Linked DNA regions of Homo sapiens: all the other regions are linked to region 2. The links are contacts of gene promoters, found by promoter capture Hi-C in human tissues and cell types (Jung and others, 2019). All regions are on one chromosome and are shown on one strand. Each heading gives the region's core, a stretch centred on a gene start or on the middle of the fragment in contact. The rest is flanking DNA. Distances are from core to core; before and after follow the strand shown. Region 1 has its middle 30 kb from the start of N4BP2. Region 2 holds the start of UGDH (UDP-glucose 6-dehydrogenase). Region 3 overlaps PDS5A (PDS5 cohesin associated factor A). Region 4 has its middle 12 kb from the start of KLHL5. Region 5 overlaps PDS5A (PDS5 cohesin associated factor A). Region 6 overlaps PDS5A (PDS5 cohesin associated factor A). Region 7 overlaps PDS5A (PDS5 cohesin associated factor A).

Evidence for each region. Contacts are between HindIII fragments. The study calls those that stand out against the background at their distance.
Region 1: a fragment that was not itself captured here is called in contact with the fragment with the promoter of UGDH in region 2 in 2 of the 25 tissues and cell types used here (lymphoblastoid cells and mesenchymal stem cells).
Region 3: a fragment that was not itself captured here is called in contact with the fragment with the promoter of UGDH in region 2 in 2 of the 25 tissues and cell types used here (mesenchymal stem cells and small bowel).
Region 4: a contact is called between a fragment that was not itself captured here and the fragment with the promoter of UGDH in region 2, in 1 of the 25 tissues and cell types used here (hippocampus).
Region 5: a contact is called between a fragment that was not itself captured here and the fragment with the promoter of UGDH in region 2, in 3 of the 25 tissues and cell types used here (IMR-90 fibroblasts, lymphoblastoid cells and mesenchymal stem cells).
Region 6: a fragment that was not itself captured here is called in contact with the fragment with the promoter of UGDH in region 2 in 1 of the 25 tissues and cell types used here (aorta).
Region 7: a contact is called between a fragment that was not itself captured here and the fragment with the promoter of UGDH in region 2, in 1 of the 25 tissues and cell types used here (thymus).

The regions. Positions count from the first base shown.
Region 1 is chr4:40,025,014-40,027,713 of GRCh38, reverse strand. No RefSeq gene overlaps it. Among named protein-coding and RNA genes, the nearest start is that of N4BP2, 30 kb to the left of the region's middle. The HindIII fragment of the contact is 3,515 bases long and covers 1-2,700 here.
Region 2 is chr4:39,526,137-39,528,836 of GRCh38, reverse strand. It overlaps UGDH (UDP-glucose 6-dehydrogenase), which reads left to right and starts at 1,398. Exons shown (of 12, transcript NM_003359.4): 1 at 1,398-1,554. UGDH-AS1 (UGDH antisense RNA 1) reads right to left here and starts at 998. Exons shown (of 5, transcript NR_047679.1): 1 at 499-998. RefSeq lists an enhancer at 514-573 and silencers at 954-1,253, 1,504-1,683. The HindIII fragment of the contact is 14,033 bases long and covers 1-2,700 here.
Region 3 is chr4:39,899,152-39,901,851 of GRCh38, reverse strand. PDS5A (PDS5 cohesin associated factor A) reads left to right here. Exons shown (of 33, transcript NM_001100399.2): 14 at 1,345-1,426. Among named protein-coding and RNA genes, the nearest start is that of PDS5A, 77 kb to the left of the region's middle. The HindIII fragment of the contact is 3,713 bases long and covers 1-2,700 here.
Region 4 is chr4:39,048,817-39,051,516 of GRCh38, reverse strand. It overlaps a transcript of KLHL5 not described here. Among named protein-coding and RNA genes, the nearest start is that of KLHL5, 12 kb to the left of the region's middle. The HindIII fragment of the contact is 3,232 bases long and covers 1-2,700 here.
Region 5 is chr4:39,873,169-39,875,868 of GRCh38, reverse strand. It overlaps PDS5A (PDS5 cohesin associated factor A), which reads left to right. Exons shown (of 33, transcript NM_001100399.2): 20 at 1,457-1,580. Among named protein-coding and RNA genes, the nearest start is that of PDS5A, 100 kb to the left of the region's middle. The HindIII fragment of the contact is 9,111 bases long and covers 1-2,700 here.
Region 6 is chr4:39,947,273-39,949,972 of GRCh38, reverse strand. All of the region lies in intron 2 of PDS5A (PDS5 cohesin associated factor A), which reads left to right. Among named protein-coding and RNA genes, the nearest start is that of PDS5A, 29 kb to the left of the region's middle. The HindIII fragment of the contact is 7,039 bases long and covers 1-2,700 here.
Region 7 is chr4:39,919,608-39,922,307 of GRCh38, reverse strand. It overlaps PDS5A (PDS5 cohesin associated factor A), which reads left to right. Exons shown (of 33, transcript NM_001100399.2): 7 at 1,909-1,989. Among named protein-coding and RNA genes, the nearest start is that of PDS5A, 57 kb to the left of the region's middle. The HindIII fragment of the contact is 5,182 bases long and covers 1-2,700 here.

The DNA.
Region 1 (2,700 bases), core at 162-2,661, 500 kb before region 2:
AAGACAGGAGAATTGCTTGAACCCAGGAGGCAAGAGGTTGCAGTCAGCTGAGATCATGCCACTGTACTGCAGCCTGGGCAACAGAGTGAGACTCCATCTCAAAAAAAAAAAAAAAAAGTCTACAGAGTTTCCAGAGTACTTGCTTTGTTTTCTTTTTCTTTTTTTTTTTTTTTAACAAAAAAAGGGCATCCAGGCATAGAGGCCAAGGTGGGCGGATCACAAGGTCAGGAGTTCAACACAAGCCTGACCAACATGGTAAAACCTCGTCTCTACTAAAAATGTCTAATTTTTATTAGACAGGCATGGTGGTGTGCACCTGTAATCCCAGCTACTCAGGAGGCTGAGGCAGGAGAATCGCTTGAACCCAGGAGGCGGAGGTTGCAGTGAGCCAAGATCGTGCCACTGCACTCCAGCCTGGGCGACAGACAAGACTCCATCTCAGAAAAAAAAATAAGGAAAAAAGTCTACATATTGAACTGTGAAATTCCTCAGTCCAGTGCTACAGAGCCAATAGCCAGGCAGAAGATTAGTTTAGTAGTACTTGCTTTTTTTTTTTTTAACAAAAAAAGGTCTACATATTGAACTGTGAGATTCCTCAGTCCAGTGCTACAAAGCCAATAGCCAAGCAGAAAATTAGTTTTTCTCCAGATAAAGTAAATTGCTACAGAGAAAATACCTACACATACTGTCATTTGGGGTACCACACACATACCTGAACACAAAAGCTGGCTGACTACCTAGGGAATCTAAAAATAAGCTCACAAGTTGACAAGACCTGCCCACTCACACAGAGCTTCCAGTCAGCTATGCAGTGGTTCAGTTAAAAATCTGACCAAATATTCAAGGATCATCAGACCTTTGAGGAAAGCTTTCAACAGTAAAGACAGAGACCGAGCAGGGCATGGTGGTTCACATCTGTAATCCCAGCACTTTGGGAAGCCAAGGCAGGTGGATCACTTGAGGTCAAGAGTTTGAGACCAGCCTGGCCAACATGGTGAAACTCTGTCTCTACTAAAAATACAAAAATTAGCTGAGTGTGGTGGCGCACGCCTGTAATCCCAGCTACTCAGAAGGCTAAGGTGGGAGAGTCGCTTGAACCTGGGAGGCAGAAGTTGCAGTGAGCCGAGATCGTGCCACTGCATTCCAGCCTGGGTGACAGAGCGAGACTCCATCTCAAAATAAAATAAATAAATAGTTTTTAAAAAAATGGTGAATGGTTAAATAGACTGTGGTACATCCATACCATGGAATACCCAGCATTAAAAAAGAACAACCTATTGATACATGCAAAAACTTAGGTGGCTTTCTAGGGCATTATGCAGCCTGAAAAAGCCAGTCTCAAAGGGATACATAAGGCCTGATTCCAGTTATGTAATTTCCTCAAAATGAGCTGGATTGCCTGTTTCTGGATTTACATGATTGATAATTCTACAGGGCATTTAGTTTTAGTTTCCGACAACCATAACACAACTTTCATTCTCTCCTGGAGTCCTCCTTTCTTCTTTCTTTTTTTCTTTTTTGAAACAGAGTCTCACTCTGTCACCCAGGTTAGAGTGCAGTGGCACGATCTCAACTCACTGCAACCTCCATCTCTCAGGTTCAAGCAATTCTCCTGCCTCAGCCTCCCAAGTAGCTGGGATTACAGGCAAGCACCACCATGCCCGGCAATTTTTGTATTTTTAGCAGAGACAGGCTTTCACCATGTTGGACAGGCTGGTCTTGAACTCCTGACCTCCAGTGATCTGCCCGCCTCAGCCTCCCAAAATGCAGGGATTACAGGTATGAGTCACTGTGCCTGGCCAATTTTTTAATTTTTTTGAGACAAAGTCTTGCTCTGTTACCCAGGCTGGAGTGCAGTGGCACGATCACAGTTAACTGCAGCCTCAACCTCCTGGGCTAAAGTGATCCTCCCACCTCAACCTTCCAAGCTGGGACTACAGTTGTGTGTCACTACACCTGGCTAAATTTTTTAATTTTTTGTAGAGGTGAGGGTCTCATTAATGTTGTCTAGGCTGGTCTCAAACTCCTGGGATCAAGGAATCCTCCTACCTTGGCCTCCCAAAGTGCTGGGATTACCAGTGTGAGCCACCATGCCTGGCTGGGTTTTACTCATTTTCTAATTGGTTTTGTTTTTGTTTATTTACTGTTGAGTTGAAAATTCTTCGTATAGTCTAGATATGAGTCCTTTATCAGATATGTGATTGGTAAATCACAACAAAAGTTTTTAATTTTGATGAAGTCCAATTTATCAGTTTTTTTATGGATTGTGCTTTTGGTGTCACATCTAAGAATTCCTCAACAAGGCACAGGTCTTGAAGATTTTCTCCTATGTTTTCTTCTAAAAGCTTATAGTTTTACATTTCACATCTAAATCTATAATCCATTTTGAGGTAATTTTTACATTTTTCCATGTTTGTATAGGTAACTTTAGTCCATTTGACTACTTTTCATATTCCCTTGTATGACAAAGTTACAGTGCATTTATGTTTAGTTTTGTTTTTTGAGATGGAGTCTCGCTCTGTCACACGGGCTGGAATGCAATGGCGCGATCTCGAATCACTGCAACCTCTGCCTCCCAGGTTCAAGTAATTCTTCTGCCTCAGCCTCCAGAGAAGCTGGAATTACAGGCGTGTGCCACCACACCTGGCTAATTTTTTTTGAATTTTTAGTAGAGATGGGATTTCACTATGTTGGCCGGGC
Region 2 (2,700 bases), core at 149-2,648:
TACTCGGGAGGCTGAGGCAGGAGAATCGTTTGAATCTGGAAGGAGGAGGTTGAGGTGAGCCGAGATCGCACCACTGCACTCCAGCCTCGGCGACAAGAGGGAGACTCCGTCTCAAAACAACCAACCAACAAGCCTACATATCCTGCCACACGTGCTACAATCCACAGCAAACTGTTTCATCCACATTCAACCACTTTCTTAAAGTCACCATCATGATCCTATCAAGAAAACCGTAATTTATATGGTATTTTAATGTGCCTTTATAAATTACTAATCACTTTCTTCATGATGTATGTTAAAATGGCTTATGTCACCTGATGTAATCCTTAATGAGGGAAATAAAAGGCCATGATTATGCCTGGCTTTTTTTCTTATATGTTAGATTTGAGTGTTAAAATGACCTCGAAGCGGCGAAAGAAAGGAACGGAACTGCCCTCCACATTAAAAATGAGCAGGCTCCATAGGTTAATTTTACTCTTCCTCACGCACGGCACTTACATGTTGCAAACTCTCTGCTCCACAGCACGCACAGACATCCCAAATCCCGGATTGGGCCTGAGGAACATCTCTGCAAAGAGCGCCAGGAGGGCGTGGGGGTCCCGCCTCTCTCGCCAGGGACCAGGGAGTGGACACTCACTGGTCCAGTCATGAGGAACTCAGCATCCTCCTGACGGGAGGCGCCTCTTTCCCAGAAGCGGTGGGTCAGGAGGAATCTGACTAAACCCTGGGTTGCCGGCCCGGAGGGCGCGGTTGACCCCGGGGCCTCGAGGTTGTGGGCGAGGAGTAATCCGCCCGCCGAGACCGACCCGCAGATCCAGGAGACCGAAACCCGAGGGCGGCGCTCCAGGGTGCTGAGGAGACCGGAAAGGCGGCCAGGACCTTCCGGTCGCCTCGGCCCACCACCCACCCAGTGTCCGCGCAGCCCTAAAGCCTGGCAGACGCGGAGCGCACGCGGCCTTTGCCTCGGCCAGGACAGGGCAGCGGGGAGAGGGCTGCTAGACAACAATTCTTGACCCCTCCTCGACCCACGACCGCCAGGTAGGCGCGCAAAGCTCCTACACCTGCGGCGCGCCCCCGTCCCCTGGTCCAGCGGACACGCCACGCACGCAGCCCCGCCCAGCGCCGCTCGCGGTAGGGGCGGAGCCGCTGAGCTGGCCAAAGCGGATTTGCCCAGCTAGGCCAGGGGCGGGGCAGGCCCTCCCAGCCAGGACCAGCCCCAGTCTCCCCGCCCCTGAGCCGTGAAGGAAATAGGGACCTGGCCCTGGGCCTTGTGTAGCGGGAGGGGGAGCTAGGAAGCAGCTGAGGGCAGAATCCAGGAGGGCCTGGCTGCGGGGGAATGAAGCCTCCGCCTTCGCAGGCAAAAGCCTTTAAATACGGGCTCAGGCCCGGGACTCAGAGTGTAACGCGTGGCAGCCTGAGGGAGGGGCGTGCGCCGAGAGGGAGCTCAGATCGAGCGGGGCGCGGGTGGAGAAGCTGCGGCGGCGCGGCCCGTAGGAAGGTGCTGTCCGAACGATCGGGATAGGAGCGGTCCCTGCGCTTGCTGCTGGGAAGTGGGTAAGCGCCGCTCCCAGGCTGGCCCCGCCGCCCGGGCGGGATGCTCCCAGGTCTGGGCGGGATGTGGAGGGAGCGGGGCTGGGGTGTGCGCGCTGCTCCCGGTCGCTCGCTGCGCTGGGTCCCGGGCTTCCCGTCTCACGACCTTCGTCTCTTTGGGGCTTAGGGCGGGAACCGCATTTTGGAACTGCTGTCCTGGGGATGTGGTCGTCTGGGCTTCTTATTCAAGACTCGTGAGTCTTCCAGCCCCTTCTCTTTCTGCCTTTACCCACTTTCCTGACTTGGATGAGATTTCCCTGCCGCCTCCAAAGCCGAACGCCCACCACAGGAAGCGGTTCTCTCGTTGGGGACCTCATTTTGGCCGCAGAGTCGTAGTCTTTTGTTTGTGTTTAAGAGTCTGCTCACCTGAGGGGCTCCTGCTTTTCTCATGCCGCCCCTCTTAAGAAACCAAAGAGAAACGAAGCCAGAAAGCCCTCTTGAGAGCAAAATACTAAGACTGCCGTGATATCTGTCCGGGATGTCCTGGAATCCATTGTTGGCCCCCTACACCACAGAATTGCTCTGTTTGATGTCGGGGAAGGCCTTTCCTGGGTGCCTCGGGAGACCATGTTTGTGTGAGATCTTGAAAAATTATACGTCCTATAAATATATAGGAAGATAACTTAGTAGGGTTAGGAATTCTAGTATAGAGAAAAGAGGGGTTCGCTGGTAGGGATCTATTCATGGGCATACAGAGCAGTAGCTGTCTATCGACAGACCTCAAAGACACAGTGAGCCTTTGAGTTTCTTCAAATCCCTTAAGAAATGGAGAACAGTAGTCTTTCTTCAGGGGGGTTCTGGAAATGAAAGAGCTGACTGTCTGCTCTGAGATGTGCTTATTAGTGGCCAGGATCCAGTTTAAGGTAAGGGGTAGACAACCCTGATTGAAAAGATCTCATTTCTTCTCCCGTTGCTGTACTCCTTTTTCTAACAAAATCTATAACTGGATAAGCATAATCCATCTTCCTTCTTGTTTACTTCCACAGCTTTACATGATAACCCTTAGACATAAAATTAATACCGGCTTTCTTACTGATTAAATATTTTTCTCTGGTCAGGCATCTTTTACTGTTTAATTTCTGGAAATGATTAAAATGTGTGAAGCTGATG
Region 3 (2,700 bases), core at 142-2,641, 370 kb before region 2:
ATTTTTTTTTTAAAGTAAATGTTACAATATATACATATATTATGTTGTACACCATCGTATATGTAATTTTTGTCAAAAATACACAAAGTAAATGAGTGATGTCATTAAGAATTCTGATCTGAAGATGGAAGGATCTTTTCAGCCTAGAAGCTTGACCATCCTGGGCAATGTAGTGAGATTCTGTCTTAAAAAAGAGAGAGAATTTTGAGTTAGGAATTTGACTGTTTGCCATTGTGGCTTCTTCAAGTGTTCCTGCATTATTAGATTAAGACTGCATTTTTAGGCCGGACGTGGAGGCTAACCCCTGTAATCCCAGCATTTTGGGAGGCCAGGGCAGGCAGATAATTTGAGGTTAGGAGTTCGAGACCAGCCTGGCCAACATGGTGAAACCCCATCTCTACTAAAAATACAAAAATATTAGTTGGGCATGGTGGTGCACGCCTGTAATCCCAGCTACTAGGGAGGCTGAGGCCGGAGAATTGCTTGAACCCAGGAGGCAGATGTTGCAGTGAGCCGAGATTATCCCATTGTACTGCAGCCTGGGCAACAGAGTGAGACTTGTCTCAAAAAAAAAAAAAAAAAAAAGAAAGAAAAGAAAAAAAGACTGTCATTTTGGCAGAAATTCTATTACGATAGTGTTGTATCATGGTTACTAATCCCTTTCCTTGCTTAAGGTTTTGATGTTTGTTTACATTTCAAAATATCTGACAAAGAGTGTTTAGAGATTAGTAATTCTCAGAGGTCATCTGGGCACCTGGAAATATGGATGGGATTTCTGAGAGAAGAAAATCTGTGTTCCTGGAGAGAGAAAAGTTTAGAATAAACACAATAATGTAAATTTGGCATCTTGAATCTGCATCATTTTTGATACTTCATTTTTCAAAATAGTCTATAGTGCTTCATGTATATGCCTTAGCCTTTTTAATAAGGCCTTCATGATTTGATCTGTGTCTGTGGAATGCTCCAGCTTCCTTATGCTCCACACACATGCCTTGTGCTCCAAGCGTATACATGTTTTTCAGTTTGTTTTATGTCCCTTGCACTTTGAGATTTTCTTTCCTTGTACCAAAACTTTCTAGCTACCTGTATTTAGTACATCTTTCAATCCCTGTATTACTTATTAATCTTTCTAAACCTCTCAAATATTTTCTCTCATAAGAAGGCTTATATTTACCATTTGTACTAAATTGTTTTAAATCCTAATAAATATATTTCCCGGTATTTAAACTTTTAGGTAGATGTAGAAGAATGGTGTATATACAGCATGCAACAAGAAAGGTTGTAAAGCTGAATAATTTCCAGTATTGTTATGTAATGTGTGTTTTCATATTCATAACTTTACAGAGCTCTCAACGAAATGTGGAAGTGTCAGAACATGCTTCGGAGCCATGTACGCGAACTATTGGATTTGCACAAGCAGCCTACAGTAGGTTCATGATTTGTTTAAATTCATAGTTTATTATAGTCACTGTTCAGATTTTCTGTAGTTCTACGTAATGAAGCAGGGAAAAAGTATCTCAGTTGTTTTATTTTCCAAATGTCAGTTAAATATAATTTCTGTAGTTGTCCAAGCTAAATTTCCATTTAAAATAAATATAACAAACTCTTATTTTCTAGTGTGAGCAAAGAAATGGTGTTTTCTAGTTTATATAAAGTTTTCAGACACTAAGAGTTTATAGTTAATCAATTTTCAAATAATTAGAATTAAATTTTGAGATAAAATTACATTAAACATCATATTTCTTTTTCACTGCATGATTCATGGTCTCTCAGTGTAGAGTGAATATCAGATATCAATCCTATAAATATGCCAATGGCAAACTAAAAAAGAAATGCCATTAAATTTTTGCAAGGTTGGGGAAAAAAACTTTACATTTTTACGTGTGTTCACTAGAATAGGTGTTCTTAACCAGGGGACCATATAAACAGACCCCTCAAGGACACATGGATGCTGGAACAGGGGCGGGCAAACTTTTTTTTTTTTTTTTTTTTTTTTTTTTAATACACAGGATCTTACTCTGTTGCCCAGGCTGTCGCATAGTGGCATGATCACAGCTCACTGCAGCCTCGATGTCACTGGGCTGAGGTGATCCTCCCACCTCAGCCTTCTGAATAGCTGGGACTACGGGTGTGCTCCACCATACCCAGCTAGGTTTTGTATGTTTTTTGTAGAGGTGAGTTTTCACCATGTTTCCCAGGCTGGTCTCAAAATCTTGGGCTCATGCAGTCTGCCTGCCTAGGCCTCCCAAATTGCTAGGATTACAGGTGTGAGATACTGCACCTAGCCTAGCAAACTTTGAAAATAAATCAACAGATAGCAAAAACATATTTTGCAAGGCATAGAGTCTGTGGTCAGATATTCAACCCTGCCTTTGCAAAATTAGTCATACACGATAAATAAATGAATGGACATGACTATATTCCATCGAAACTACTAACAAAAACAGGTAGCTCATGGGGGCATAGTTTTCTAACTTTTGAACTAAATTATTCAAATTTAGTATAAATGAAAACTAATAAGTAATGTTTTATGGGATACAGGAAAGGGAAGTACGTTTTAGAAAGGAGGTTTTCCTGAAGGTATTTAAGTAACGGGCCACAAAGTAGCTAACAGAACTCTATTGCAGAAAAAAAAGTTTCTTCTCTATATTTTTAGTTAATTTTTTGTGGCATGTAGTTTCATAGTAATTCTGATATGAT
Region 4 (2,700 bases), core at 117-2,616, 480 kb after region 2:
TTTGAAGTTTAGTTAAACCCAAGAAAACCCCTTCATTTGCACAGAAACAAGTGTCTAAGAGTCTTAATATGACATTCCAGATATTCTACAACCTGAATCTAATCTCATACACAGCTTTTACTCATATTCTTGTTTTTTTTTTTTTTCTGGGAAATCCTCTTCAGGTAACATATACCATCTCCCCATAGTTAATCTCTTCGGCCACTGATGAGGTGAAGCTATGGATATTTTTCAAACAGGAAGAAAGGAGATTATCGCGTAGTTTGAAAATGCAAGGGAATTCTGCTAGTGAAGCTACATACACGAGTCTAACAGAAAATGATAGAAATTTATTGAGAATAAAATTAGATTAAATTGGTGAAGAGATATGATAATAGCATGTTAAAATGTAAAATGTCCAGATAAAGAGTGTCTAGGAGACCAGTTTGGATGGAAGAAAAGAGCAGAGCTAGGTAGTATATTACATGTGCCGTTCTTCCTGCATTATTACCCATGAGGAGAAGCCAGGAAGCTCTGTATCAGGATCAAAGCAGATGACTTATAAGAGTTAGACAATTCAGTCAATCCTTACCCTGGGAGAGGAAGAAGGGATGGATGAAAGGATTACAATGGAGATGGCATTTGCCAGTGTTCAGGGAGGGAATATCGTAGTTACTTAAGTCAGATCCAGTTATACCTTCTTATCCTGATTATCATAATCAGCCTGTCTCACTAGAATTTGCAAGCTCATGTTAATTGTGTAGAACTTTCCATGGCACCTCGGTTTCTTTGATTGAAAGCTATTATAACTGCCTCTTTCTCTACTATAAAGTTGTCAATTACACTAATTTGTTATACCTTAGAGTCAACTGCATTATTTCCTAAGTCTGGTGGTTAAGAGCTTACAAAGACAATGCACTTAAACATTTTTAGATTGTCTGAAATTGTTAAAGCCTCTAGTTTCAAGTTCATAAACTCTTAGATTAAAACATCCATGTAACAGCAAAATAGAGAAAAATTAATCAATAGAGAAAAAGAAGAAAGAAATACATGTGCAGAGAGAGACACTAGCAAGAAATCATATAGACTTGGAGAGAGAGAAAGTAGCCCTAGCTCCTAGCTTTCTGTTATTGGTGCCAGTTGCTTTGAGGCCCAGCTGTACTTCTTGCCCTTGGACTCTGATACAAACTATATTCCTTTTCTAACATAACATTTCTTTTGCTTATGCTAATTTAAGTAACATTGTTTAATTTGTCATGAAATACTCCTTAAGTCCAAAAAGGCAGAGAGGAACAAAGTGTAACAGTTTATATATTTAGTATTTTTCACTATTTTATATATGTGTGTATACACATCATTTACATACTGTAAATGATGCCTTAAAGAGAAAGGGAGAGAAAACTCAAGTATAGCTATTTTCTATTGTGATTGTAAACTCCCCACTTATTTATTTATTTATTTTTGGGATGGAGTCTCACTCTGTCGCCCAGGATGAAGTGCAGTGGCGTGATGTCAGCTTACCGCAACCTCTGCTTCCCGGGTTCAAGCGATTCTCCTGCCTCAGCCTCTGGAGTAGCTGGGATTACAGGCGTGCACCATGATGCCCAGCTAATATTTTTTGTAATTTTAGTAGAGATGTGGTTTCACCATGTTGGCCAGGCTGGTCTCGAACTCCTGACCTCAGGTGATCTGCCCACCTGAGCCTACCAAAGTGCTGGGATTAAAAGCGTGAGCCACTATGCCCGACCCTCATTTATCTTTTTATCCTCACAGGCCTAACACAGTGCCTTATACACTTTCATTTATTTATTTATTTATTTATTTTTTATTTATTTATTTTTGAGACAAGGTCTTGCTGTCCCGTAGGTTGGAGGGCAGTGGCCTGATCATGGCTCACTGCAGCCTTGACCTGCCAAGCACAAATGATCAATCATCTCACCTCCCTACCCCCGCCCCCAAGGAAGCTCGGACTGGAGACACATGCCACTACACCCAGCTAATTTTATTTATTTTTTGTAGGCATAGGGTCTCACTACGTTGTCCAGATTGGTCTCAAAACTCCTGGACTGAAGAATCCTCCCACCTTGGCCTCCCAAAGTGCTGGGACTGCACAGTCTTGAGCCACTACACCTGGCCCCTTATACACATTCAACAAATGTTTATTGAATGGACATACAATTTAAAAAGAATGAAATTCATTTGGCCAAAATAACAAACTTAATTGTGAAGTTCTCAAAAGCATTTCATTTCAAACTAATAAAAGACATTCTTCATAATTCTCATTAGCATAATTCTGTTTAAACACACTCACATACACAAAGAAATGCTGTTTTCTATTTTCTAAATAGAATACTGTACTGACATATTTGGCTTTTGATTTATTTAGATTCTGTGTTAGCTCATGGGACTCTGAAGCCTCTTTAGTAGTCATTAAGACCGTTCACAGACTATTCCAGTTCTCCTCTTTCTGGGCACATGGTAGAAATGCATTTCCCCATCTCCTTGAAGTTGGGTGTAGTCAAGTGACTTTTGGCCAATGAAATAGCAGTGGAAGTTAAGTGTCACTTCCAGACAGAAGCCCTGAAGAGCCAATGTACACCAGGCGCGGTGGTTCACACCTGTAATCCCAGCACTTTGGGAGGCTGAGGCAGGTGGATCATGAGGTCAGGAGTTGGAGATCAGGCTGGTCAACATGATGAAACCCCGTCTCTACTACAAATA
Region 5 (2,700 bases), core at 47-2,546, 350 kb before region 2:
AATAATACATTTAACAACAGTTTGATTGAAACTATCTTCCTTTGTCATTCACCAGTGTTATAAGAAATCTCAGTCTGGTAAATGGAATGGTGAAAGACTAAACAGATAGGAGAGAGGAAAGACATCTTCCATTTAGAAGCATAGTCAATACTCAGTCAAGGAAGTCTGTTTGGTCATGGACATCCCTATCTCATAATTCCAAAGTCCATAGAGGCAAACTTCAGGCATATTTATACATGTCAAATCAGATTCATACCAACTAGCATATGTTCCCATTTTTGGTTAAAGTGCATGGCCTGGAGCCTGCAGTATAGGTTTCATATGTAGCCTTCCATTATCATAAGAGGGCATTGTCACCCTTGCATTTGATGCCACTAACTTTATAAAATAGGCTCTTCTCTAATAACATTAAATATATGACAAATATCTTTCCTTAAATGTTTGTTTCGTTTTATCAATTTTATTCTGATTATAAAAATACTTACGTTCATTGTAGCAAACTGAAACTAGAAAAAATATAACGAAATAGTCACCATTAACATTTGATATATATACTTTCTATGAATGTTCATCTACTAGATGTGTTTGTCTATTTTTTATAAGTTCATATATGCACACTATTTTCTTCATTCTACCTAATGCTTTTTCATGTCATCAACATTTAATTTTTGAAGAATGCTTTATGTTTTTCTGTCATCCTAAAAGAAGACTGTTTTAGTTTACTCTTCATTGTCAGTGTAGAGGTTAAGTATGTGGATTTTGAAAGAAATGCTAATTTTCAAATCCCAACTCCCAGTTTCCTAGCTTCGTCATCTTAGGAGGCTTAAATAACATCTTTGTGCTTTAATTTTCTCATCTGTGTAATGACTATGATAGTCTTCTTTGGGTGGATGTGAACATTAGTTGAATTAATCCATGCGGAAATACCTAGAATGGTGCCTGGCACATAATAGTTAGATATTTTTATTGCCATTCTACTGATATATATGTAGCTGTATCTTTGCATACTTTCTTTCACTAGTATTATTTCAGCTGTTTAATACAACTTGGCCTTTTGCTACTCTCTTTCTGTAGCTACTTTGAAATAACTGAAGGGGATTATAAAAGGGAATTGAAAAATTAGCAATATTGCTACTTAGAAGGTAAATGCAAAAATATGTCATGGGGTAAGCTTTAGATTATGAATTAAGGGTTGCTTGTTATTTTGCATATTTGTGAGGTAACTTTAAAATAAAAATTGTCTCCTGAAGTAGGCTTTTTCTTGAGGCATTGTATTTCTTGGTTTATACTTGGGGGCAGAGATGGAGCTTTTTTACAACTTTCTTTAGATCAGATAATTTTTAAGAGAGCCTTCTCTACTAGCATCCATCCATATAGGGGAAGTGGAAGTCAACCAAAGGAATACTTGTTGGTTTATGGGTTTAAGAAAAAAAAACAACTATATTATTTTTTGCAGGACCTTAATTCCCATTTTACATCAAAAAGCAAAGAGGGGTACTCCACACCAAGCAAAACAGGCTGTGCACTGTATACACGCCATATTCACAAATAAAGAAGTCCAGCTTGCACAGATTTTTGAGGTATATCTAATATATAGGTTGTGTTTATATTGGTCTTTATTTTTTAAGCTCTATAGTTTGATGAAGATGGAAGCTAGATTTTTTAAAGCTGTTTATATGAAGTCCTACCTTAGACTATAAATTCCTTGTGAGCAAGGATTCTGTCTATTTTATGTGGTACTGCATTCCCAGCCTGTAGATCAGATTATATGTTCAAACACCTCATATTGAAGGGTTTTGTGGTTTTTGTTTTTTAGTTTGTTTTTGAGATAAAGTTTCACTTTCTCACCAGTGCTGGAGTACAGTGATGCAATCTCTGCTCACTGCAGCCCCGAATTCCTAGGTTCAAGCAGTCCTTCTGCCTCAGCCTCCCAAGTAGCTGAGAGTACAGGCACCACCACCATGCCTAGCTAATTTTTGGATTTTTTTATAGAGATGGGGTTTTGCCATGTTGCCCAGGCTGGTCTCAAACTCCTGGACTGAAGCGATCCACCCACTTCAGTCTTTCAAAGTGCTAGGATTACACACATGAGCCACCACACCTAGCCTTATGTGTTTATGTTAGAACATTTTACTTAATTTTAGCCTTATTGGTTCAGTGGTGCATTTATCCTCGGAAAGTATTAGTAGATAATTTTGAACAATCCAGTTTAAAGTACCTAAGAACCCTACCTGAAAATTAATCCTGTTTCCCTTTTTTTTACATATAATGACTGGCCTCATTTTACTATTAGAAATGTATTCCTATTATCATAAATTGGAGATAGTGTGACCAAAACCCAGTGAACTCTTACTTTGTATGATTTAAGGTCATTTAAAATGCTTCCACAGGGTAAGAAAACCACTGGTATAGCAAATCCATTGTTGTAGATTAGTCAAAAATAATGCTGATTTGATGAAGCAAAAATGTTTTTCTTTAAACTTCTTTTTGTTGGATTTTATTTTTTCTTTTATCTTTTTTCTACATTCTTTCAATCTTGCTAAATTTTAGTAGGTGAATTAAGAACCAGGTGTCTTAACATGGTTGAAGTTAGTTATGATCGTATTAGAGAAGATTGGTTTGGGCATGGTAAATTCAGGAGGACTCAGGAAAATGTACTGTTTCAGTAGAGTGTCTAGATATTTATCAAACAAATTGGTA
Region 6 (2,700 bases), core at 58-2,557, 420 kb before region 2:
GATCATGCCATTACACTCCATCCTGGGCAACAAGAGCAAACTCTGTCTCAAAAATAAAATAAAATGTATGGTTGTTTTTAGTATCATCACAAATGCTTGCAGTGATTGCCACAGTCAGGTTTTTTGTGGTGTTTTTCTTTTTTTTTTTTTTCTGAGACAGAGTCTTATTCTGTCGCCCTGGCTGGAGTGCAGTGGTGCAATGCACTGCAGCCCTGGCCCCTGCAAGTTCAGTGATTGTGCCACCCCAGCCTCCTGCGTAGCCGGGTGTGCGCCACCATGCCAAGCTAATTGTTGAAACTTTTTTTTTTAGAGATGGGGTTTCACCTGTTGCCCAGTCCGGTCTTGAACTCCTGGGCTCAAATGATCCATCCACCTGCCTCAGAACCCCAAAGGGCTGGGATTGTGTGAGCCACTTTGACCAGCTCGTAGTCAGTTTTAGAACAGTTATCATCTCAAAATGAAGTCCCTGTGTCCATTAGCTATTACCCTCATATTCCTCCCCACAGTCCTAAGGAATCACTAACCTACTTTTTGTCTATGTACATTTCCCCGATCTGGACATTTCATATAAATGGAATCATAAGCAAGTGGTCTGTTGTGGCTGGCATATTTCAGTTAGCATAACATTTCGCCCAGTCATACCATCAGTTCTTTTTTTTTTTTTTTTTTTTGAGATAGGTTCTTGCTCTTTCATCCACGCTAAAATGTAGTGGCTCCATCTGGGTTCACTGAAGCCTCGACCTCCCGCATTCAAGCAATCCTCCTGCCTCAGCTTCCTGAGTAGCTGGGACTATGGACATGTGCCACCACACCTGGCTATCTTTTTTTTTTTTGGTGTTTTTTGTAGAGACAGGGTTTCACTATGTTGCCCAGTCTCAAAATCCTGTGCTCAGGTGATCTCTGGCCTTGGTCTCCCAAAGTACTGTGATTACAGGTGTGAGCCACCATGCCTGGCTTTCATTATACCTTTTATGGCCAGATAATACTGTAGTGTATAGGTGTACCAAATTTTGTTTATCCGTTTGTTAGTTGATAATAAATGGGGTTGGGCTGGGCTCAGTGGCTCACACCTCTAATTCCAGAACTTTGGGAGGCCAAGGTGGGCAGATAATCTGAGGTCAAGAATTCAAGACCAGCCTGGCCAACATGGTGAAATGCCATCTCAACTAAAAATAGAAAAATTATCCGGGCATGGTGGCACATGCCTTTAATCCCAGCTACTCAGGAGGCTGAGGCAGGAAAATTGCTTGAAGCCAGGAGGCAGAGGTTGCAGTGAGCTGAGATGGCACCACTGCACTCCAGCCTGGGCAGCAGAGTGAGACTCGGTCTTTAAAAAAAAAAAAAAAAAAAATCCAGGCGTGGTAGCTCACACGTGTAATCCCAGCACTTTGGGAGGCCGAGGCAGGTGGATCATGAGGTCAGCAGTTCAAGACCAGCCTGGCCAAGATGGTAAAACCCCATCTCTACTAAAAATACAAAAATTAGCAGGGCCTGGTGGTAGGCGCCTATAAACCCAGCTACTCGGGAGGCTGAGGCAGAGAATTGCTTGAACCCGGGAGGCGGAGGTTGCAGTAATGCAGTGAGCCGAGGTCGCACCATTGCACTCCAGCCTGGGTGACAGAGCAAGACTCCATCTCAAAAAAAAAAAAAAAAAAAAAAAGGTTTGATTCACCTTTTGGCTATTGTGAATAATGCTGCTATAAACATTCTTGTGCAAATTTCTCTTTTCTTTTTCTTTCTTTCTTTTTTTTTTTTTTTTTTTGAGACGGGATATCTTGCTGTGTTGCCTACCTCCTGAGCTTAAGGAATCCTGCTGCCTCAGTCTTTCAAGTAGCTGAGACTACTGGTACGTGCTACCATACCCAGCTAATTTTTAAATCTTTAGTAGAAATGGGGTCTTGCAGTTGTTGCCCAGGCTAGTCTTGCATTCCTTGTCTCAAGGCATCCTCCCTCCTTGTCTTTCCAAATTGCTAAGATCATGGGAGTGAGCCACCATTCCTGGCTTATGTGCAAATTTTTGTGTGGACATTGCCATTATTTGGATAAGGTTTGTCCTCACCAAAACTTATGTTGAAGTTTGGTTCTCATTGCAGCAGTGTTGGGAATTGGGGCCTACTGGGAGGTGTTCCATCATGGGGCCAGTCCCTCATGAATAGATAATGCCATCTTGTGAGAGTGAGTTCTCACTCTTCTGGGACTGGATTAGTTACCCAAAAAGTGGGTTCTTATAAACAAGCTTGGTCCAACTCACAGCCCGTGGGTCACATGTGACCCAGGATGGCTTTGAATGTGGCCCAACACACATTCATAAACTTTCTTAAAACATTATGAGACTATTGTGCAATTTTTTTTGTTTGTTTTAAGGTTATTAGCTATCATTAGTGTTAGTGTACTTTATGTGTGGTCCAAGACAATTCTTCTTCCAGTGTGGCCCAGGGAAGCCAAAGGATTGGACACTACTGTTAGAAAGCAGGTTTACTCCCTCATGTTTATTTCATGTTTCCTCTCTCTTTTTTTTCCCCCCTTTCAGACAGTCTCTCTCTCACCCAGACTGGAGTGCAGTGGCATGATCTTGGCTCACTGCAGCCTCCGCCTCCCGGTTCAAGTTATCTGCCTCAGTCTCCTGAGTAGCTGGGAGTACAGGCACATGCCACCATCCCAGGCTAATTTTTTGTATTTTTAGTAGAGATGGGGTTTCAC
Region 7 (2,700 bases), core at 21-2,520, 390 kb before region 2:
AATGTATTTCCTCCTTTTTAACATAGATGTGAAACATAGGAGTTTGGATTTCTTTTCAGAATCCGTATCGTACCTTTTTCTTAGGTACTCTCAGAAAAAGATTTGGGCAGAAGCTATATGGTTAATGTTAAGAAGAAAAGGATGATTCAAAGGTGTATCATTCTTCCCTGTTTCCTTTTTCTATTTATCTCCACCAGATCCTCCTAAGAATCTGAAGGACTTGGCTGCCCTCAGGCTCCACCACTGGGCTCTACTCAGGCCTACCCCAATGTTGATATTTGCTCTCCTGCTCTTTTCTTCTAGTGGTTCAGTATCCTGTTATCAGACATTAGAGGAAAAATCTGTCCAATTATACTCATTCACAGAAAGATATAATTAATTTTAAATTCTTCTCGAGTTTAAATATTATTTACATTTTATTAATTCAAATGTAGTTTACAAAATTCTGTAGTTTATAAAAATTCTGAGACTATGGCAAAGGAGAGTATATTTTGGCAGATTAAGACAGTATATTTGGTTTTTATATACTAGGTAAGTAGGTTGGTGGTATTTTTTTGGGACAGGGTCTCACTCTGTCACCTAGGCTGGAGTGCAGCGGCACTATCTTGGCTCATTGCCGCCTCTGTCTCCTGGGCTCAAGTGATCCTCCTACCTCAGCCTCCCAAGTAGCTGGCAATACAGGCATGTGCCACCATACCTGGCTTTTTTTTTTTTTTTTTTTTTTAAGTTTTCTTTGTAGAAACAGGGTTTCGCTATGTTGCCCAGGCTTATCTCAAACTCCTGGGCTCAAGCGATCTGCCCGTTTTAGCCTCCCGAAGTGCTGAGATTACAGGCATGAGCAACCACATCTGGCTTGAGAGCATTTTTATTAGTAGTAGGAAATAGACTTCTTTTAAGAAATAGAAATGTTAACTTAATTTTAAGCAAATCTTATCCTTTGCCAATGAAATAAAAGTATAGAGCAGGGGTCAAGAAGCTATGGCTTGTTGATCAGATTTGGACTATTGCTTATTTATGTAAGTAAGATTTTATTGGAACACAGCCATGTTCATTCGTTTTCGTTTTGTTTATATCTGCTTTCATGCTACAACAGCAGAGTTGTGTAGTTGTTGCAGTGATTTGTATGACCCACAAAACCTAAAATATTTACCATGTGGCCCTTCATAGAAAAAGTTTGCTGACCCCTGGCCTAGAGTGTAGGGTTTCCTAGCCTTGTTTTGGAAGAGGTGTTAGATGATGGTGAATGAATCTGTTTGATCCAAAACTTCAAGATATAGCAATGTTAATAGGTATTATTCAAAACAAGAATTCCCTTTTCAGGCATTTAAAAAAAATTAAATAATATATTTTCTAAGGTCCTTCTCAGATCCTTTAATTTATTTGAGTACATTGGGACTCTTGAAACGGGAGCATAGTATTAAGCATTTCAAAAATACAATTGATCAAGAACGCTTTTTATTTGAAACGCTTACCAGGTCTACTCTTCTCCAGAGCACGCATTGATTAAACAATGAAATAATTGAGCATGTTGTGTTAGATCAGGGAGTGTATGTGTTTAAGATACGTGGGTGTAGTTGTCAGTTTACATTGGTTAACAGATAAAACCAAAAAGCATTAGGTCTGTTTTGAGTTTAATAAAACAATATAGTGTTGTGCTTTTGCTAACTAACCCATTTTAGTTTTTGATTAATAAATTAGTTCGATTTGCAACGTCTGCATTTAAGATCACTTGACTAGAGGATATTTGGCAAAACCTTGAAGAGAACTCAGTTATTTTTATTTTTGCTTCATATTTTAGTGAAGCAAAATTCATATTTTATTACAGATTTGAAGACTACAGTATTCTAATGTTACTATCTCATAAATTAACATTTATTTGTAACTTTCCATGTTTTTATTATTTTTCAGAACTTAAATAAACAGTCCTTTGACCTTGCAAAAGTGCTATTGAAAAGAACAGTCCAGACTATTGAGGCATGCATTGCTAATGTATGTATTTCTTTCTATGTTTATTCTATATTTTGTAATTCTTAATCCATTGTATTAATTTATTAGAACCTCTTACATAAAAGTTTATTTAGCTTATAAATATAAAATAACTTATGTCCAGATGTGACCAGGGTTAGAGAAATGCAGCATAAGTTTCATGACGTTTTTAAAGGGTGGATATTACTATAAGAAAAGTCGTCTGCAACTCCCATCCCCTTATCTGCATTTGTATTTATGTTTATTTCATTGTCTCCCAGATATGCTGATCTCTTTCATATTTTCCTTGGGTCTCTGTGTCTCTCTCTATATATTTTTTTCTTTGTTTCTTTTGGGTCATTCTTCTGAAGTCCTGTAATGTTTCTTCCTTTTTTTTTTATTTTATTTTTTTAAGATTACAGAGATTTATTTAGAAAATGGTTTGGTTGTTTTGCCTGTTGTTTTTGGCAAAGATTTAAATACTTTTCAGTAATGAAAGATTGTGATAGTTGCTACATAGTAATAGTTAAAAAAAGGTTTACTGAGGAATTTGTTCTGGGTTTGTTTTTCCTAAAAAAATCAATAATTTGGAAAAAAAAGTTTGCAATCTCACTACCTTATAGCAACTAATTCCATTGTTCATTTGCTCATATTTATAACTATTTTCCCACATACTTTATGAAAAAAAAATTTTTTTTGAGACGGAGTCTCACTCTGTCTCTGAAGCTGGAGTGC